6 separate regions of the Homo sapiens genome follow, and regions 1, 2, 3, 4 and 5 are each linked to region 6. The links are contacts of gene promoters, found by promoter capture Hi-C in blood cells and fetal thymus (Javierre and others, 2016). All regions are on one chromosome and are shown on one strand. Each heading gives the region's core, a stretch centred on a gene start or on the middle of the fragment in contact. The rest is flanking DNA. Distances are from core to core; before and after follow the strand shown.

Region 1 (3,545 bases), core at 216-2,715, 520 kb after region 6:
CCTGGGCTTGGAACCACTGCTCCACATCCTGGCGATTGGTCTCCACCATGGCCTCGTACTGGCCTCACGTCTCCCCCAGAACTCTACTCAGGTCAATGGTGGGCTCAATGTCCAGCTCTATCCGGAGCTTGTCTCCCAGCTGACCCCTTAGAGTGTGGGCTTCCTGTAGGCATCAGAGGAGTATGACCCGCCTGCAGGGCCCCCAACTGCCCTTCACCCAAACTCTCAACTCCCACTTTCCATCCTCCCCAGTAATTTCCCTGTGCTCCTCTGAAGATAAACCGCTGCCTGCACCAGCCTAGCAGCTTCCAGAAGCTGTGGATGAGAAGCAATCTCCCACCAAAAGCCAGAGCTCACCTGCAAAGCTTCAATCCCAAGCAGAAGGAAGCCTCCGTTTTTTCCCCCCAGATGAGCCTGAATTCACCTCCAGAAAGTCTCAATGCATCACACCAAGGGTCACACACCTGCTCATGGTTCTTCTTGAGGCAAAGCAGCTCCTCCTTCAGGGACTCCAGCTGGGCCTCCAGGTCACACTTGGCGAGGGTGAGGTTGTCTAGCACCCTGCGCAGGCCACAGATGTCAGCCTCCACCAGCTGTTGCAGCGAGCGCTCTCTCTCGTACCTGTAACAGGGAAAGTGCAGGAGTGACAGTTAGAGGGCAGGAAGGGGCACCAGGACATGACTCCCAGCTCGCAGCTGTAAGTCCACTGGCCTGCCCTTTGCCATCTAATTGTGAGTTGGCTTATCCTGTGTAGTGTGCTCAAAGCCCAGAAAGCAACAGGATGTTCCCCACTCAGTCAATACTAAGCACCTGAGATGAACCAAGGGGAGCAGCTGGTACTGAGGATACTGTGATGGACACACAGCCAGCACCTGCCTTTACACACAATGGCCCAAAAGGGAGGTGGCAAAGTAACCAGGCATTTGCAACACAGTGCAATCACTGCAGGCCCCTCTCTACAAGCCCCATACCCAAAGGGACCCTGGATTCCCTATTAGAGTAAAAGCCACATTGCCAGCATGAGAGGAAGGAAATGGCTTTCTTTAGCTCTAGAAGAGTGAGACTTGCACAGTGCCCCGAAGAAAGATGATAAAACACAATGCCCTTCCAGCACCCAGGGTAGACCCTCCTCAGGTGGTGTCAACCCTTTGACTTTCACATGTTTTCATCTTAGGCTATGGAGCATGATTTCTGCTATGAATTATCAGCACTCACAAATTAATCAAGCTGCAGCACAGAAACATATCCTTATTAAGGCAACAGTTTCACAGGAAATTGCTTCAAGAAAGGAAAATTTGGTACAAAATTTAAGGCCAAGTCCCAGCTCTGCCACTCGGTACCCACATGGCTTCTGGCAAGTCACACCAGCACCCCAAGCCTCAGGGTCCCCACCTGTGGAGGAGATTCTATCCCTGCCCGCCTGCTTCACAAGTTGCTTACCAGGTGGATGATGCATTCTAGCACATGTTGTAAACTGTTAATGCTAAACCACTGGAGAGCGGATAGTTTTTCAGGATCTTGAGCTTAATGCCCTTTGTTCTCTTCTGCTATAACTACTGGGTTGGGGTCTGGGTCAATGACATCCGATGCCACATGAGACAGAAGCAGCCAACTTGGCATTGTCCCATCCCCATCCAACCCCAACTCTCACTTGGCTCCTTCCCATCCCTGTCCAACCCCAACTCACTTGGTCCTGAAGTCATCTGCAGCCAATTTGGCATTGTCTATTTGCACAACCAGCCTATTGTTCTCCGATTTGGTGCACAGAATCTGGGGTAAGAAAGTAGGCTCAGTAAGTGACTTACTGATCCCAGAGACACCTATAGCCTCAGGTGAGAGGAAGTTTTATTGGCTGAAGTTGAACCTACAGCATCCGCCTGGACAACACAAACTCCCAAACGTGCAAGAGATGCTTTTGTGGTGTGGGAAGGAAGATGTGCAAGAGACTTCTTGGAAAAGGATGAAGACATAGAGTCAAAGGAACCAGGAGATGGAAGACAGTAGCAAACTGAACATATAACAAAGACTTGCTTTCATTTTGCCAGATATGATGCTTAGCCCAATATAAATAAGAAGATCTGGCCGGACGCAGTGGCTCATGCCTGTAATCCCCGCACTTTGGGAGACCAAGGCAGATGGATCACCTGAGGTCAGGAGTTCAAGACCAGCCTGGGCAACATGGTGAAACACCATCTCTACTAAAAATATAAAAGTTAGCTAGGAGTGGTGGCGCACACTTGTAATCCCAGCTACTCAGGAAGCTGAGACATGAGAATCACTTGAACCTGGGAGGCAGAGTTTGCAGTGAGCTGAGATTGCACCACTGCACTCCAGCCTGGGTGACAGAGCGAGACTTTGTCTCAAAAAAAAAAAAAAAAAAACTAGGCCACAGAACAGAGGACTGGCTATGAATGTTTTAGATAAAGTAGGATCTGTTCTAAAGAAGATCTTTCCTCTGGTTGTCCAACCTCCCCACAGGTCTTCTCTGAATCTAGCCAGGTTTCTGTAACCCCTATTTTGACATTCCTTGTCTTCTTGTCTCCAAAACTAAGATGTAGGCTCTTCAGAAGCTTTAACTGGATAATCAAAGGTGACAATAGATATGCATAAGAGGTTGATGCTGTTGTGTGGATAGACACTGCCTTGGCAAGGATGTTAGGAAATATTCCTTTTGCCCTGTTTACTGCACCAGAAGTTTCAGTATACTGCAACTTTCATAAACTCAGCACGGTTTTTGCATGGTTTTCATGAAAATAGCATGATTTTTGTGACTACGATTTAGGAATTTTATGTGCTGAAGTTAAGTAAGCATGAACTCAGAATCCTAGAGTGATAAATTCTACATCTCATCCTTTACAAATTCCCATTCACCTTCACTCAAGAGATTCTCTTCCCACATTAAAAGAAAAAAAAAATCCACTGCTGACCCAGGGTCAGTAATCTTTTTTTGTAAAGGGTCAGATAGTAAATACTTTAGGCTTTGCAGACCCTACAGTCTCCATTACAATGACTGAACTCTGCCACTGTAGTACAAAAGCAGCTGCAGACAACATACAAATGCATGAGCATGGCCATGAACCAATAAAACTTTATTTGCAAAAGCAGGTGGTGGGCCGGATTTGGCCGACAGGCAGTAAGCAGATTCCTGACCCCTGATCTGGTGCACCGCAAACCTCACCTTCTGCTGGAGCTCCTGGATGGTGCAGAAGTAGGACTGGTAGTTTCGGCACACGCTGGACTCGTGGCACTTGCTCCTCTCATGGAGTTTGGTCTCCAGTTCTGCATTGTCCCACTCCAGCTGGCGCACCTTCTCCAGGTAGTTGGCCAGGCGGTCGTTTAGGAACTGCATGGTCTCCTTCTCGTGGCCGTTCAGGGTGTTTTCGCGGTAGGCCCCACAGATTCCGATGTTGCCAGGAATGTGGCAGGTCCCTGGCAAGGGACAAGTGGTGTGGCAGGTTGGGGGCAGACAGAGGCTGAGGCGGCCCAGGGGAGTCGACCCCACACGGACTCGATTGGCATGTGCCACATTAGCCAAGAGGCACAGA
Region 2 (3,761 bases), core at 608-3,107, 570 kb after region 6:
CAGGTTCTAAGGAGATGGCTACTAGGTTGGTGACTCTCTTACAGGTGGGCCCCAGTCTTAATACTGGGATCTACAGACATTGGGTACAGAGTTTCTAGAGTGGTTTCTGGCCACAGCCTGTCTGGAGCAAGGAGGCTTCAAATGGCTCTTGCCAAAGCTTGAGGAGCAGGGATTTCTGCTTTAACTAGAAGCCATGGTCCTAGACAGTTGAGTTGCAGATTGGTGACAAGGGCCAGGTGCTCAGGTGTGAGTGTTTCCTCACCCAGAGCTTTTATTCACCTGCCATAGGAGCAGATGTGATACACAAGCTTTCCCCCAATGAATCCTCATTTGTTCTGCCATCAGAACAACCCATCAGCAGTTATTCAGTCCTCAGAAGTAGCTCCCCACTTTATGAAAGAAAGGGCTGACTTTGGACTTCTTGTTACTGCCTTCTGTTGTGAAAAGAAATGTTAAATGTTTTCTCTTTAGAGATGCCCCATTGAAAAGTTAGACTTTGTTCCTTGAGTGACTATCTGGCCTCTCTCTAGGAATGGCATTGGCTCTAAGATGAATCGTCCTCTCCACTGACCTTCAATACCCAAAAAAGTAAAATTCTCTGATAAGAGCCTCAGGAATCCCTAAAGAGCAATAGAGCAAAGACTGCTAAGTTATTAGAACTAAAGAAAACTTCCAAGTACTAATTCAACCTTTCGTGCTTCAGAGACCAGAGAAGGACAGTGAGCTCCCCAGGGATGCCAAGCAAGTCAGATACAGAGCCAGGACTGGTCCCAGGGCCCCTAGCACATTCTGTTTCCTCTGCACCAAGATGGACAAGCTTTTTCTGTTAAAAAGACAGATGCTAAATATTTTAGGCTTTGCAAGTCGTATACTCTCTTTGTACTGCAACTACTTAGCTCTGCCATTGTAGCACAAAGCAGACATAGACAACAGGGAAATGAATGGGTGTGGCTATGCTCCAATAAAACTTGATTTACCAAAACAAGTAGCAGTGGGGTTTGACCTGTGAGCTGTAGTTGCCATCCCTGCTTCACACAGCACAGTGAATGAGGCTTAAAAATTGGACCCCTTAAGCATGTGGGAGACCTTCAGTCCGCTCTGGAGCCAGAGGGCTGGGCAGAGGGAGGGCACCTGGGAATGGATGGTGAACTCCAGGACTGGACGCTGAGCCTCAGACACCAGGGCCTTCACTCTACCAGGGCATTTACACCAAGACTGGAAGTTCATCCAATGCTCTTAGAGCAAAGCAAAGCTACCCATATGTTGTTGTTGCTGCTGCTGCTGCTGCTGTTGTTGTTTCTGAAACTTGGGCTTCAGAATGGCTCCAAAATATGACTCAGCTGCCATTGTAATTGGGGAAAGTCAGAAGAGAAGAGAAATTTGTTGCCAAAGCATGTTTTCTTTACTCAACATTCATCAGGCACCTACAATATGCCAGGCATCATGACAGGCATTTTTATATGTACTATATCCCAACAACTCTGTGAAAAAGGTAGAATTACTCCCATTTCTAAAGGGGAGAAGACTGAGATGCATAGAGATTAAGAGTTCTGCCAAAATCACACAGCACATTAGCAGCAGAACTGGGGGTCTAGCCCAGTTTTTCTGAAGCCAAAGGCACTGATCTTCTCCATTAATCCTAGATGCTCATTGGTGACTTTGTTTACATATTATGATTAAGGGACACTGCTATTTAAATACAAATTTGTCTTGATCAGTTGGGCAAAAAGATAGACATCAAATGATCTTAGGAACTTTCTGTTTAGCCGAATTGATATCATTGCATTCAAGTGTTACATTTTATGAAATACAGGCCGGGTGCAGTGGCTCACGCCTGTAATCCCAGCAGTTTGGAAGGCCAAGGTGGGTGAATCACCTGAGGTCAAGAGTTCGAGACCAGCCTGGCCAACATGGTGAAACCCCATTTCTACTAAAAATACAAAAATTAGCCAGGCATGGTGGCATGTGCCTGTGGTCCTAGCTACTCAGGAGGCTGAGGCACAAGAATCACTTGAACCCAGGAGGCAGAGGTTGCAGTGAGCCAAGATCATGCCACTGCACTCCAGCCTGGGCTACGGGGCGAGACTCTCTCTCCAAAAGAAAAAAAAATTATGAAATACAAAAAGAATATTGTTTTATTATTAATGATTTTCCTGGTTATACCCTGGAAGAGGCATATTCTTTTTTTGATCACTCTCTAAAAGGTTTCCTAATATAGTGGTGAAGAAAGATTCAGTCAGTGCAATTCAGAGTCCACACACAGCCCCAACTCCCAGATGCCAAACCCAACTCCTGGATCTTTCGGGAAGCTGTCGCCCTCTGGCCAGTCTTCCTTGAATGGCAGTTCTGCCCATGGGCCCTCACTCTCACCCCCAGAAGAGGGTGCTTTGCACTAGGGCAGTGAGCAGCAGGGGTGAGGCCCAAACTCTTGAATAGCCTTGGGGAAAGTGGTGTCTTTAAAAAGCACACCCTTTTCTTTTCCAATCCCGCTCAGAGAGGATCCCTGATACCTGTGAGGGTTTCTCCAAAACATCAAATATGACAGAGGTTTTATGACTTGACCAGGGTCCTGCCTACATTTCCCTATAAACTCTTCCCCTATAAAGAGTTAATTAGATGCAAATGCTTTGATATGAGGAGAGAGTTCCTCTGAGAATCTCCATGAGTGGTACACTGAGTCCAGTTCCCAGGAGATTCCGGTGCTGGTGGGGGATAAATATCTCCCAAAGTCTATGCCCACGGCTTCTTCATCCATCAAATAAGAGACAGGCTAGGCAGGAGGGTAGCTCGTGACACCTCTGGCTTGAAGTACCATCCAGACACAGAAGATGATGGGCCTCACTTCTAGCAGAGGAGGGTACTCCTGGCCCTGGGCTGTGGGGCTTGGTTTCATATAAAAAGCTTTAACAGTCATCTTGGGAGTCAGACAGGTCTTGGCAAGTGGGAGAGACACACAGGTGTGGGAATGGGGACCGAGTTGGACTGAAACAATATGCACTGGGGAAACGGAGACTCTGGAAGTCCCCAGGGGGTCCAGGGTCCAGGACTTCTGGCCCACAACTCCTGTGCAATCATTCCTGCTGAGGCTCTGGGCTGCAGCTCAAGGTCTTTGCTCTTACTGAGCCCAGTGCTCAAAGAAAGAGGAGATGCTGAGTCTGGTAGTTGCTAGCGATGCTTTTTAAGAGAACTATATTCCCAGGAAGAAGTTTCAGCTTCTCAGAGAAAATGTCTCCCTTCTTTGGGAAATGAAAGAAAAGGAGAGGGGAAATATGTATTAGCCTGAAATAATAATAAACCTAGGGTGCTTGGAGAAAGCATAAAGTGCTTGGAGAGACCTAAGAGGCTTGGCGTCAAAACCCTTGGCTTCAATTTCCACCTGTTGGTTGTGTCTGTGAGCACATCTGTCCACCTCCCTGGGTCTGAGATGACTCTTCTGTAAAACTGGGAAAGCTGAGCCAGATCATCTGGAAGGCTCCTTCTAGTTCTGACAGTCTAAGACAGCTCTGTCCAGTAGAACTTTCTGCAGTGTTGGAAATAGTCCATGTCTGTGTTGTCTTATTTACTACCACTTAGCCACGTGTGACGAGTGCAACTCAGTGCAATTCAGTATATGAAACATTCATATACCGAATGTTTCAGTATATGCAGCCACATGTCGTTATGAACTACCATATTGGACAGAACAGGTCTAGGATTATAGAACCAAAGCTTTGGTCTGTTCTGTGTGTTGTTTATCAAGCTGAGCACATTCCAGAAAAGTT
Region 3 (3,481 bases), core at 68-2,567, 590 kb after region 6:
GCAATGGTAGGGGGCTTATGTAAATGCACCCCTAAAAGTACCCTGGGAGGGAGACACCCTATCGCCGGTCTTACAAGGACCACAGACAAGAGGCTGATAAAGTGGCCTAAAACCCTCCCTGTTATGCTGATCTCAGTTTCCATCTCAGTTTTGTCCCTCCCACTCTGGGATCCCCAGGTGACCACGTATACTAAGAGGGATTCCACAGCAGTCTGAAAACACCTGGCACCACACTGGAATCTTGGAGAAAGGTCTTCATCAGGGAAGCCAAGCAAAAGCTCTCACTGTAGGCCTCTACCCACCCCAAACAGGGGCATAGTGACCCTGTCATCCAAAGGGTCATACTTGGTCACACATCTCCCATTCGGCTGCCCAACAGTCACCCCCTGGACACAGCAGAGACACAAGCCAACAACACCAGAATGGTGCAAGTTAGGCATCAGGGGCCTGAGCAAATGCACTTTATTGTTCTGCCAACAAAAGCCCTCTACTGCATTTCAGAATCCACCGGAACAGCACCTAGAAGGAAAACCTGACCCAGGAGGCAGCCTGAGAACAGAGACCCTGGCACCCATTGAAATGATGAGGAGTTGAGACCTTTGGGGGCAGCCGGCCTTTGTGACAGGCTCTGAGAAACTTTAGGGCATGTATTTGCAGAAAGCCTTTTCAGCCAGACCCTGGGCCTGGGCTCTGCGCGAAGAGAGGGGATTGGGCTACAAGGGTTAAGTTTGGGTAGAGGCCAAGTTCAAGCCCTGGAGACAATAGCCATGGCCATCTGGGTCACCCGCTCTCAGAACCGACCCCCTGGGCAGGGCACACAAATGGGGCGGGGGCTGCAGTTTGTGCGGGCTGCACTAGGACCGCAGGAGGCCGCAGGAAGACAGGGAAGGCATGACTTGGAGGGTGAGTAGTCAGGTGCACATGGGTTACAGGGGAGCCTAGAAAAAAGAAAACAAATTACTGTGATTTTCCAGTTGCTGTTTGCAGTAACTCAAAGTAGATCCTAGACTATGCAAACTGGGAAGCACCCTAAAAACCACCTTGATCCTGCCCCCTTGTTTTACCAAAAGGGAAACAGGCCCTGAGAGGAAAGGGGGCTTGCTGGAGTCACGTGATGAGTTTTCAGGAAGACCAGAACTAAGAGAACAGAACTCCAGACTCCGAATGCCAGGCTCTTTCTAGGCACCATGCTGTCTTCCCAGAACTTGGTAGATTGCAGTGAGAAGACAAGAGCACATGCAGTGATACTCACTTGCTGTCCTCACTCTCCAGCAGGCCCCGGTACGTGTTGATCTCACACTCCAGCCGGGCCCGGACGTCCAGCAGCACCTGGTACTCCTGGTTCTGCCGCTCCAGGTCAGCCCGGATCTCGGCCAGCTGGGCCTCCACGTTGGTGATCATGCACTGCATCTGGGCCAGCTGGGAGCTATAGCGGGCCTCCGTCTCTGCCAGGGTGGATTCCAAAGCATCTCTCTGTGAGGGCAAGAGTTGTGTAGGGAGGAAAAAGGCTAGAGGTCAGAGAAGGAGCAAGGAAGGAATCTTCCTTGGAGCTATAGCGGGCCTCCGTCTCTGCCAGGGTGGATTCCAAAGCATCTCTCTGTGAGGTCAAGAGTTGTGTAGGGAGGAAAAAGGCTAGAGGTCAGAGAAGGAGCAAGGAAGGAATCTGGGTCTCAGTGAGGCCTCAGAATCCAAGAACAGAAGCTCGGAGAATCAGAGTTTGAGCTAGGATGAACCACAATCAGACATCTCACTTGAGATGAGCTAATTAGCCCCTGTGGCTTCTTTGATCTAGAAAGTATCTCCCTGTTAGTGTCATCTCTGAGTAACTGATAGTTACTCAGAAGATGTATCTGCTTGCACAAATATAGGACCTACTGCCTGGACATGTCAGTTGCTACAGGTCTCTTGTCCTTTACCACTGGGGGATTTGTGACTGGAGCTGGTCCCTCATTCCCTCTTTTCTGCATAGAGAACCCCTGGTGCTCAAGAACATGGACCCCTGGAGTCCGCCTGTGTGGTCAAAGCATGGAAGCTGGGGAGCTTGTGTGCTCCTCGGCTTGGTCCAGAGGCAGCTCCACCCTGCCTTGGGGCTCACCATGCTGTGCTGAGCCTGCAGCTCAATCTCCAGGGCGTTGACCGTGCGTCTCAGCTCGATGATCTCTGCCTGGCAGGACTGCAACTGCTCTGAGCTGGACACCACCTGCTGGTTCAGCTCCTCACTCTGAAACATACACACACAGAACCTGGTCAGCCACACCAGGGACTTGGCTTCAGAGAGCTACAGAGGCCGGTTAGAATCATGAGCCAAGAAAGACATTCCCGATTCCCCAGTCCCACTCATTTATTTTATACTGGAGGGCATTGTTGCTCAGAGGACAGCAACCTGCCCAAGTGGGTCTGTTTTGACCTTGTCAGCAAGGTCAATTGAAGTGGGTCTGTTTTGACCTTGTCAGCAAGGTCAAAACAGAGATGGGACTCAAAGTTAGATTTCTTGATTCAGAGCCCCAGGGTCACTTCCATGTGAGCCACCACATACCCCTGTTGCACTGACTGTTTCCAGGTACCTACCTGGGTGTCCAACCAGTCTTCAGCATCCCGGCGGTTATTCTCCACCAGGGTTTCATACTGGCACCTCATCTCCTCCAGAACTCGGTTCAGGTCAACAGGTGGGGCAGCGTCCACCTCAACATTGAGGCGGTCACCAAGTTGGCAGCGCAGTGAGTTCACTTCCTATAGCACAGACCAGGATGAGTACTAATTCCCAGAGGGCTGCCTCCAAGGTTCACCTCCTCCTCATGTTCACCTCCTCCCCATGCTCACCCCTCCTAATGCTCACCTCCTCCCCATGCTCATCTGCTCCCCATGCCCACCTCCTCCCCATGCTCACCTCCTCTGCATGCTCACCTGCTCTCTATGCTCACCTGCTCCCCATGCTCACCTCCTCTTCCCTATGCACACCTGCTCCCTCATGTTCACCTCCCCCTATGCTCACCTCATCCCCAATGCTCACCTCCTCCCCATGTTCACCTCCTCCCCCATGCTCACCTGCTGTGCCGTGTTCACCTTTTCCCCCATGCTCACCTCCTCATGGTTCTTCTTCAGGCAGAGCAGCTCCTCCTTCAGGGACTCCACCTGGGCCTCCAGGTCAGACTTGCACAGGGTCAGGTCATCCAGGATCCTGCGCAGGCCGTTGATGTCTGACTCCACCAGCTGCCGCAGGGACACCTCCGTCTCATACCTGCAGGCATAGAACAGGGCACCTGAGTCTGCATTTCCTTTTTGCATCTAAGTCAGGCCTGCCCTCAGACTGTCCAGGTGCTGTGAGTCCTGCTTTTATGCCCCAATGACAGAGTACAGCCAAAACCCTGAGCTCAGGCATCACCTGTGTCCAGTTCTAGCAGCCCCCAACCACATGACAAGCAGGACAACTCACTTGGTCCTGAAGTCATCTGCAGCCAATTTGGCATTGTCAATCTCCACC
Region 4 (3,360 bases), core at 333-2,832, 540 kb after region 6:
GCATAAATACATCTTTGCTCTGAGAAAAAGTTGAACATGCATCCCCGTGAAAACCACAAGGGAGTCAGGGGATGATGGTGTTGATGAAACCTGGGCTCTTGGAATTCTCTCAAGGAGAAATAAGGGGTCTGGAATTCTTCCCAAGAGGAAAACCCACTGTGGGTCAGCTGTGGCTCCAGCGGCCCTGAGGTCAGCTATGACTCATTCTTTACTGGGGCAATCCTTAGAGGGCCTCTCCCTGCCAGGCCATCCCTCAGAGGCCTCTGGGTGCAATCTGCATTTTCCATCTTCAAAGACCCCTTTGTTCCTATCTTCCGCCTCAACACATAGCATCACTATAATCCAGAGAATTGAAGCATTAAAATTCTTCCCTTTGATTTGCTAAATAGGAACCCTCTCTTGACCCTATCCTCTGGCAGGATTTTATCCCATTGGCTAAAATCATGGTTCCTTCTGTCTCAGAACATATGACACTTGTTAATTCTTAAGCATCACAGCTGAAGCTTTGCATCCTTTGCGTCCTGACACACCTCTCCAAAGCTTGATATGTGTCTCTGGCTTGGGCTCTGCATGGTCCATTTTGCATAATGACATAGACACTGCCTAGTCCTTCGTACAGCAGAGGGCTCTTCTGATTTTCTTTGGTCTCAAAGGAACAGGCAGTAGGTGGAAGGCATGAGGCAGGTGTCTGGGATGTACTCAGCTGTGTAGGTGGGAAGGAGCCCATCCTTGACATTGCAGATGATCAGATGAGCCTCCTCTTCCTCCCTTTTTTTTTTTTTTTTGAGACAGAGTCTCGCCCTATTACCCAGGCTGCAGTGCAATGCAATGCAATGGCATGATCTCGGCTCACTACGACCTCCACCTCCCGGGTTCAAACGATTCTCCTGCCTCAGCCTCCTTAGTAGCTGGGATTACAGGCACCCGCCACCACACCCAGCTAATTTTTGTATTTTTAGTAGAGATGGGGTTTCACCATGTTGGCCAGACTGGTCTTGAACTCCTGACCTCGTGATCCACCCACCTCAGCCTCCCAAAGTGCTGGGATTACAGGCATGAGCCACCGTGCCCGGCCCTCTTGCTCCTCTTTAAAAAGAGTTTCTGGCCCCTGAAAATAAACATATATTCCAAGTTGCATGAAGGGAGGTATCAGAGATGAAGAGAGAAGACAGAGGTAGTCCTGCAGCCCTCCTTCCTTCACAGGGGCCACCTCTTCTCTCTTGAGGATTAAAAGATTTTGAGCTGTAATCTCTCTTCAGGCAGAGGGGAAACACTGGGTTCAGAACAGCATCACTTGGTGCCACGGTGCAGACGCATCTCTGAGTCTGACCGTTCTGACGCATCTCTGAGTGAGACAGAAGCAGAGGCACTGGGCGGTCCACAGGGTGTGAGTCTAATCTGCAACCACCTGCTCCAGCTGCAGAGGAAAAATTCTGAAGACACCTAAGGAAACAGGAGCTGCCCACACACTGCATCCTGATGTGAATTACGCCAGGAAAACATCTGCAAACCACGACCAGCAGTGTGTCCTGATACCACTGTGCCTGCAAGGCTCTCAGACATGCTGGGTGAAAACAGAGTCTGAGGAAGGATAACCCAAAACACCTTTATCATTTCAAAAGTCCACCTCAGAAGGCTTTGAAAAAAAAAAAAAAGTCACCGTTTTCTTTTCTATTAAATAGGATTTTAAAATCTAGTTACTTGGGAAACTTTGGTTTGATTTTAAGTATTTTTAAATTATTATTCTGCTTTATTCTTTTTTTGTTTTTCTTTTCTTTTTAGATGGAGTTTTGCTCTTGTTGCCCAAGCTGGAGAGCAGTGGTCTGATCTTGGCTCACTGCAACCTCCGTCTCCTGGATTCAAGAGATTCTCCTGCCTCCGCCTCCTGAATAGCTGGGATTACAGGCGTACGCCACCACGTCCGGCTAATTTTTTGTATTTTTAGCAGAGATGGAGTTTCACCATGTTAGCCAGGCTGGTCTCCGACTCCTGACCTCAGGTGATCCACCCACCTCGGCCTCCCAAAGTGCTGGGATTACAGGAGTGAGCCACAGCGCCCTGCCTAGTTTGCTTTATTCTTATCCCAGGTCTTAAGGTCATCAGAGACTAAATACTGAAAAAGTTATCTTCATTTCCCCTCCCCTTTGTTCCCTGATCCTAGAGTTTCTTTATCTACATGCTAAGGCAGGAAATTTCCCCTTATTTACCTCATACCAAGACCTATTACAAAATCCTTTAATGCAGCATAGTAGAGGTTTAAGACAATGAATTTTGGATCCAGCCTGCCTGGGTTCAGATTCTGGTTCTATCATTTATTAGCTGTGTGAACTTGGGCTGGTGACTTGACCTCTCTGTGCCTCAAATTCTGCTTATGCACAATGGAGTGACAATAGCACCTAGCTAATGGATTTAAGTTTTAAAAAAATCCATACCTGTAAATCACGTAAAATAGTGTCTAGCACAGAGTACATGGTAAGCACTAAATAAGTGTTGTGTTTTTTAATGGATTTTACTGTTACTGGTGTGTTTACATGCTTACACCATTCATAATTCAAAAATGCTTATTAAATTACTTATTTTTTACTTATTTAAGTTAGCAAAGATCAGAAGTTTAGTCTTACTAAAAAGCTTTTGCACAGCAAAAGAAACAACAGAGTGAAAATACAACCTACTGAATGGGAGAAAGAATTGTAAATCATATATCTGATAAAGGGTTAGCCTCCAAAATATATAAGGAAGTCCTACAACTCAACTGTAAAAAATAATTTTTTTTAATTTAAAAATGGGCTAAGGATTTCTATAGACATTTCTCTAAAGTAGACGTACAAACGGCCATCAGGTATATGAAAAAATGCTCAAAGTCACTAGCCATAAGGGAAATGCAGATCAAAGCCATGAGACATCACTTCACACCACTCAGGATGGCTACTATCAAAAAAAAAAAAAGACAACTAGTATTGGTGAGGATATAGAGGAGCTGGAACCATTGCACGCTGTTGGGAAAATGCAAAATGACGCAGCCACTATGGAAAACAGTATGGAGATTCCTCAAAGAATTAAAAATAGAATTACCATATGAGCCAACAATCTCACTTCAGGGTATTTATCCAAAAGAATTGAAATTGGGATCTCAAAGAGATGTTAACACTCCTGTGGTCATTGCAGCAGGAGTCACAATAGCCAGAATGTGGAAACTACCTAAATGTCCGTTGACAGATAAATACAAAAAGAAATTGGTATGTGCAAACACTGGAATTCCATTCAGCCTTTAAAAAGGACGAAATTCTGCAATACGCAACGTGAATAAACCTCGAAGACGTTATGCTAAATAAAATAAGCCAATCACAGAAAGACAAATAC
Region 5 (3,441 bases), core at 621-3,120, 660 kb after region 6:
AAATGTATATATATATAATGCATGTACTACTTCTTCCCAAATATATTTATATATATATAATATATAATGCAGAATTATATATTATATATAATACATAATATATATAACATGTAATAATTATGTATTACACATTATATAATATATTACATGTAATAATTATGTATTACACATTATATAATATATATTACATATATTTGGAAAGAATACATGCATTATATATATATTTGGGAAGAAATAATACATGCATAATTCAGTACAAAATTATATATCTGTAAAAAAACAAAACCTAACTTGGGCATTCAGATCTGCCAAGAAGTTTGAGGTGGTGCTGGGACCCCAGGCCTGGGCCCTGCAGGAGCTCACAGCCTCAGCCTCTCTGGATCTACTGGCTGCCGATGGGCACTCTGAGCAGTTTCTTGCTTTTCCCAAAGCCATGCCCAGGAAACACCATTCATTCCCTCATTCACTCGTGTGCTGTGCGTGGGCTCTGAGCCAGGCCCTATGCCACATGCAGAATTCAGAGACGAAACAGACTCAGGCCCAGCCCCCAACAAGCTCCCAGCAGATGGGAGAGGGGAGAATGGGGGAGGGAAAGATCTACACAAATAGCTACAAAAGAGAGGCCCAGCAGTATAGCGTAGCAGGCAAGATTAATCAGTGACCATGTAGCAAGGCAGTGACAGGCCTGGCCTTTGAAAAGAGCCACGCCTTGGGGTGAGAGCCACTCATTAGCCAGGCCCAGGTATTCACCTCCCTAAGCTCCAGTTTCCTCCCCTATAAAACATGGACCATAATCACACCAGTGTGGCATGTGGTTTAGAGCCCAGGCCTTGGAGCCAGGGTGGCCTGGGTTTGATTCACAGAGCCACCATTTTATTTCAAAGCCATGTCATGCAACGGCCGTTACCTCACCTGTCAGAACCTCAGTGTCCCCGCCTCTGAAATGAGGCTAATAACACCAACCTCAGAGGGCTTGTGGGGGAATAAATGAAAAATCAGGTGTGAAGCACAGTATCTGGCACTCCATAAAATCAAGAGCTATTACCAGCAACATGAAGGTTAAATGGCATGTGTCAGTCATCACCGCAGGGGACAACCACTCAGCAGGTGTGGGCTGGGAGGAGCTTTCTGTTCTGTTTTTTGGGTTTTTTGTTTGTTGAGATGGGGTCTTGCTCTGTCACCCAGGGTAGAGTGCAGTGGCGCAATCCTAGCTCATTGCAGCCTCAAACTCCTGGGCTCAAGTGATCCTCCTGCCTCAGCCTCCTCAGTAGCTAGGGCTACAAACATGCACTACCATGCCTGGGCCAATTTTTTTTTTAAGAGACCTGTTCTTGCTATGTTGCCCAGGCTGGTCTTGAACTCCTGGGCTTAAGCAATCTGCCTGCCTCGGCCTCCCAAAGTGCTGAGGTTACAGGTATGAGCCACCATACCTGGCCAGGTATGGGTTTTTATAAAAGATTTTGTGAGAGGATAGGCACAGTGGCTCACACCTATAATCTCAGCACTTTGGGAGGTCGAGGCAGGTAGACTGCTTGAGTCCAAGAGTTCAAGATCAGCCTAGGTAACATCTCTACAAAAAATGATCAGGGCATGGTGGTATGTGCCTGTAGTTCCAGCTACTCGGGAGGCTGAGGTGGAAGGATTACCTGAGCCCAGGAGGTTGAGGCTGCAGTGAGCCATGATCACACCACTGCACTCCAGCCTGGGTGACAGAGTGAGACCTTGTCTCAAAAAAAAAAAAAAAGATTTTTGTGGGAGTCGCTCACTGCTCCCTGTGCGGTGGGGTGGAGGGAAGGGGAAAGTGTTCTTCCAAAAAGCTGAGATTTGAAGAATGAGGAGTGGGAAGAAAAGGGCTCGGGTGGTGGGTGTTTCTGGCACAGGGAAAGCTGTGGGAAATGGCCTGGCCAGGTGAGACAATGCGGGGAGTTCAGGGAGGGAGCAGTTCAGTGTGTTGGAGGCGTAACACTGGGAGAGTTGGAGGCCTGGAGGCTGGGGAAGGCAGGGGAGGGGACAAGTGCTGCCTGCGGGCCTGTTGGCAGTGGGGGTGTGGGTGGATAAGAGACGGGCCAATGGAGGGCCTCACGGAGGGGACAACTGCGAGGGTCCGACTCACCATGCAGGTCCTGAATAAAGCCGTGCTGGGCCTGGAGAAGTGTGGGTCGGGGAGGGATGGACACTGAACAGCAAGGCTCACCTCACATCCAGGAGGCCCCCCGCCAGCCCCGCCATGCCACAGGCACTGACGGTTGCCACTAAGCCTCAGAGGCCAACTGCATTTATTTGGAAATGGAGCAAGGCACTGGCCATGTCCAGGCTGGCTTTCCAGCCCTGTCCCCCAAAATCACAGTCTTCCTGCAATTACTCACAGGTGCTGGCCAATAGTGCTTAGGTTCTCAAATGCCTGCTTCTACTCAGGCTATCCTATCCACCTGCAGGGTCCTTCCCCTCAGCCGTCACAGGTTGAAACTGTGCCTCTTCACCATTGCCTGGAGTAGACAGAATAATGGCCCTCCAAAGATACGCCAATCGGAACCTGTGAGCATGTACCTTCCATGGCAGAAAGAGACTTTGCAGATGTGATTACATTAAGGATCTTGGAATGGGGGTTGGGTTATCCTGGATTATCCGATTGAGTCCAAAGTAATCACAAGGGTCCTTGTAAGAGAGAGGCGAGATGGTCAAGGTCACAGAGAGGAGCTGGGACCATGGAAGCAGAGGTCAAAGTGAGGCACTTTGAAGGAGGAAGATCCCACAAGCCAAGGAAGGCAGGCAGCCCCTGGAGGCTGGAAGAGGCCAGGAGACAGACTCTCCCGTAGAGCCCCTAGAAAAAAAGCATTTCTGATGACACCTTGATTTTAGCCCATAAGGCCCATTTCAGATTTCTGACTTCCAGGCCTAGAAGATAGTAAGTTTGTGTTGTTTTAAGCCACTGAGTTTGCCACCACTTGTTACAGCAGCAACGTGGAACTCATACATCACCTCTTCCTTCAGGCCTTTGTGATCCCTGGCACTCGCTCTTCCTCCTCTGAGCCCCTCTGGTGCTTTACCTGACCCTCTCCCAGGCACTGTCCTCTTCCTATATGGGTGAGAATTCATTGGCTCTTATCCCCTCTACCAGCCAGTGAGCTCCTTGAGGCTGGGGTCTGGCTCATATTTGTGCCCCCTTGCCCAACCACTGGTTGGGCTGATAATTCTCCCTGGATCCTTAGATCTACTCTCCACCTTCCTCTGTCCTGCTCTGTACCTGGAAGGATGATCCCTGTGTCACTGGCTCCCTTCCCTCCAACTGCCCCATTGGAATCAGCCATCCATCAGTAGGCAGCAGCGGAAGATGGAGAACAGGAAGAAAGGGGCCTGTGTATCTATCCCCCCACCTCTCCTTGCCCAGCCACGGTTCTGGCTGCAGCTGCTCGCTCTAAGGCTCCTGCAGGGCAGCCCTCC
Region 6 (3,450 bases), core at 900-3,399:
TTCATTTCAAGTATTTCTACATGAAAATATATAGAAAAAATAATGACATAGTTATTTAACATAACAGAGTCATAAAATGCAACTCTAGATGCCCCAGGGTTTGGTCTACTTTCTTGTGATTTTACAGAAGGATAATTTAACTCAACTTGAGTCATCACACCTTATTGAGTGCCTTGCCTTTGATGTTTCTACTTAGGACATTTCTTTTAGCCCCTGTGGTCTGGTGAACTCCCATTCCTCCCTCATGTCTCAGGTTCGACAACATTGCTTCATAGGAGCCTTCACAGATGCTCTCAAAACTGAACTGGATGATCTGCCTGTGCTCTCATTATCCCTCTGTGTGCTGGTCCCTCTGTCCATCCCTGTATCCTCATAAATCATATTGTGTCCACCATAATATTCCTCAGTCCCCAGCATGGTGCCCAGCACCTAGTTAGTGTTCATTCAGTATTGGCTGAATGAAAGAACATGATGCATGAAAGAACGAAATGCATGATGGAGGCATATAGATGAAAAATCTACTTGCAGAAGATGTTACAATGACATTTCTCTTTCAATGGACCCAGTTTTGGAGAGGGCTGCTTCCTATGGTTGGGACTGTCCAGCTCAATGGGACGGATGGCCTGTGCCTGTGTATTTCAGATGAACCAAACTAGAGTCAGAAACACGAGACAGGTGTGGTTCGAACATTTTTAGTGAGAGCTTGCGAAGGATGAACTTTATTCCGGAAGGGCTATTTAAATGCCATTGCTTCACATGCCCATAGTTTCTAAAATTCCAAAGTAACTTCCCATGGAGTCCGAATCAAATTGCCCTGATGTTTAGTACAACTCAAGAAAAACAGACTTGCTGGTAAGTAAATGCGCTTTGCTCTAAAGGAGTATGAATCTTAACACAAATTACAGTGAACACTTTTCTTAATTAGATAAGAACTTTAATTTGAAGCAAGTGCTCTGTGTCATATCTGAAATTTTCAATTAGGAGCAAAGTCTTCTGCTTTTATTCCATGAAACTGATAAAATACAGAGCTCCACCCTTTTTTTGATGACATAGGAGGAGGTTGTGATATGATTGTAATAAACATGAATTGGGGGCAATAGAACATTTTATTACTGTAGAAGTAGTTTCTGAACTGCTTGATGCTGATGGTCATGTTATTAAACAGGGCACTTAAAAATCCAGGCATCATTAAGACCCATATTCCTGCCACACTGTTTCCACCCAGAATCACTTTGCTATTTAAATCTGCAGTACAGTATTCTAATAGTCATATTATAACATTTACTTAAATAAAAGGAGAAAAGTCTTTGAATTTACTGGGGTTTCAAAACTTGATAAGGACTAGGTGAAAAACTAAGAGAGATTTATCACGTAATTAATTTTTAGCTCTTTTCAGAAAGATTGTTCACTATACATTTAGCCCTGATGTGATAAGCTGTGACAAAGATTCATTTTATTCCGGAGGATAAAATGTTCATATTTTGTATGTAATTGTGTTAAACATTAAAAATAGCATGATTTAAGGTCATCCTGTTGTACAGTCAGGTACTCCAGCACTAAAGGTAGATGAAAGAATTTTTATAGATGTAACATTTTAGCCTAATTTGCTTTACAAAGTCCATTTGGACCTACCTAACATAGATAACCTCTTGATTTATCTTGAAGCTAAACACAGAGTAGGAAACACAAGCATCATCTCTCACCTGACTTCGCAGCTCTTCAATTTGTCTGTAATATGCACTGTAGTCGCGACCAGCCCTCGGGGCGTTGGTTTCGTACCACTGCTTGATTTGCACTTCAAGTTTGGAGTTGGACTGCTCCAGGGTCCGCACCTTTTCTAGGTAGCTCGCTAGACGGTCATTTAGGTTCTGCATGGCCATTTTCTCATTGCCAACAAACAGGTCCCCGCCGCCTGTGAGATCGCTCCCATAGTTCACCGTGTGTCTGGAGTTGGAGATGCGGATGCCCCGGCCTCCAGCACCCCCATAAACGCTGGGTGTCGTCCCGAGGCGCTGCATGCCCACTGTACTGACTACAGGGGCCTGCAAGGAGGAGCTCAGGCTTCTGTGGAAGCTTCTGCGACTGAAATCCATTGGAGATTCCAGGAGGGAGCACCTGTAGCTTCAGGATGGTTGGGGCAGAGTGTGTCTCATGGAGGGTGTTGAGCTAGCCTTTTATGAAGTCCACAGGCAAGAAACTCCTCCTCTGCTGACATGTCACTAGGATTGGCACCACAGTCCACCTTGCCTTACTTCCACGCCCCCCGCTTTGTATAGCAATATGTTAATATGCTTAATTCAATTCCAGAAAATACCACTAGAGGCATTTCTTGGAGGCTTTTATCAGGGGCAACTTTTTTTTTTTTTTAATTAAACAGGTAATAAAAGGAAACAGGAAAGTGTATTCTTTTAGCCCATGCGCCTGCCTTGGCAGGTTTTTTTCATCCTAACATACACACAAAGAATATTTACAATCCTCATGTATAATTTAGGTATCTAAAAAGGCAGATGTGCCTACATAACTGAAAGTCACAATGGAGATAAAGGACAATGTTTGATTTGTATTGAGGAGTTGCTCTTCAGAACCTCTGTTTCATGCTTTGCTTGTGTTTGGCTTTTAAGTTTATTGTGTTTTGGACATCTTATTTTATAAGACTATTAAAATATTTTGTACAAACACAAAACCTCGAATCCCTAAACCAGGAATGAAACCATTGTACATTTGGAGATGTAGTTTGGGGATGTGAATTAAATGAATTTAGCTGAGTGATGGATTAGATGATTTGGGAGGTTATTTTCTTTCTATTTCTAATGTTCTATGACTAAATATTGCATTTTAGGTTTCCAGTCACCACCTGGCTTCAAGTCCTGTTACCAAGACACTTAGAATAAATCACACAGTGCTTTGTACCTGGCATGGTATCAGGATGGGTCTCCTCTTTTGTATGAGGCCAGCTTAACACCCACCATGAGACAGACTCTGCCCCATCCATCCTGAAGCTACTTACAGGTGCTCCTTCTAAAGTCCCCAGTGGATTTCAGTTGCAGAAGCTTCCATGGAAGCCTGATCTTCCTTGTATGCCCCCATAATCACAGCGAGAGTGGCTGTTTATATAGGAAGGGGTGCAGGCGGGGACTTGGGACTACACTCAGCTTCCAGGGTTGGGCTGGAGGCAGCTGCTTGTGTGTGGACCTCTAGACACATGGGCATGATCTCATCGGTGGGAATCTGATTGTAAGCAACCAATAAATGCCTGAGTCACTTGCTTCCCTTCATTCAAACCCCCTGGCTGAGAATTCACACTTCCCATGAAGCATGTAAATCACTTCCTTAGTTAATTAGATAATCACTAATTAATATAATTAGATAATCAGTTAATCACTTCCAAGTTAATTAGAAGGGATTGGAAAAGTCACTAAAAACATCTAATTAATTGTCATCCTGATACTT

Evidence for each region. Contacts are between HindIII fragments. The CHiCAGO score rates a contact against its expected background, and 5 or more counts as called.
Region 1: a fragment that was not itself captured here is called in contact with the fragment with the promoter of KRT20 in region 6 in 3 of 17 cell types (M1 macrophages, M2 macrophages and M0 macrophages); the score reaches 6.8 in M1 macrophages.
Region 2: a contact is called between a fragment that was not itself captured here and the fragment with the promoter of KRT20 in region 6, in 7 of 17 cell types (M0 macrophages, endothelial precursors, neutrophils and 4 more). The highest score is 8.8, in M0 macrophages.
Region 3: a fragment that was not itself captured here is called in contact with the fragment with the promoter of KRT20 in region 6 in 8 of 17 cell types (M0 macrophages, endothelial precursors, M2 macrophages and 5 more); the score reaches 10.6 in M0 macrophages.
Region 4: a fragment that was not itself captured here is called in contact with the fragment with the promoter of KRT20 in region 6 in 12 of 17 cell types (M2 macrophages, M0 macrophages, neutrophils and 9 more); the score reaches 11.5 in M2 macrophages.
Region 5: a contact is called between a fragment that was not itself captured here and the fragment with the promoter of KRT20 in region 6, in 17 of 17 cell types (M2 macrophages, naive B cells, naive CD4 T cells and 14 more). The highest score is 14.6, in M2 macrophages.

What each region holds. Positions count from the first base shown.
Region 1 is chr17:41,408,169-41,411,713 of GRCh38, forward strand. It overlaps LOC100505782 (a long non-coding RNA gene), which reads left to right. Exons shown (of 3, transcript NR_040111.1): 2 at 253-2,149. It also overlaps the pseudogene KRT41P. Among named protein-coding and RNA genes, the nearest start is that of KRT31, 12 kb to the left of the region's middle. RefSeq lists an enhancer at 3,369-3,545. The HindIII fragment of the contact is 2,205 bases long and covers 364-2,568 here.
Region 2 is chr17:41,454,081-41,457,841 of GRCh38, forward strand. No RefSeq gene overlaps it. Among named protein-coding and RNA genes, the nearest start is that of KRT32, 11 kb to the right of the region's middle. The HindIII fragment of the contact is 2,084 bases long and covers 816-2,899 here.
Region 3 is chr17:41,476,266-41,479,746 of GRCh38, forward strand. It overlaps KRT35 (keratin 35), which reads right to left. Exons shown (of 7, transcript NM_002280.6): 2 at 3,434-3,481; 3 at 3,082-3,238; 4 at 2,569-2,730; 5 at 2,096-2,221; 6 at 1,253-1,473; 7 at 445-938. The coding sequence ends at 791. Among named protein-coding and RNA genes, the nearest start is that of KRT35, 3.1 kb to the right of the region's middle. The HindIII fragment of the contact is 6,798 bases long and covers 1-3,481 here.
Region 4 is chr17:41,428,538-41,431,897 of GRCh38, forward strand. No RefSeq gene overlaps it. Among named protein-coding and RNA genes, the nearest start is that of KRT37, 5.6 kb to the left of the region's middle. The HindIII fragment of the contact is 2,088 bases long and covers 539-2,626 here.
Region 5 is chr17:41,544,046-41,547,486 of GRCh38, forward strand. No RefSeq gene overlaps it. Among named protein-coding and RNA genes, the nearest start is that of LINC00974, 8.7 kb to the right of the region's middle. The HindIII fragment of the contact is 7,630 bases long and covers 1-3,441 here.
Region 6 is chr17:40,883,093-40,886,542 of GRCh38, forward strand. KRT20 (keratin 20) reads right to left here and starts at 2,150. Exons shown (of 8, transcript NM_019010.3): 1 at 1,704-2,150. The coding sequence starts at 2,093. All of the region lies in intron 1 of LOC105371777 (a long non-coding RNA gene), which reads left to right. The HindIII fragment of the contact is 977 bases long and covers 2,072-3,048 here.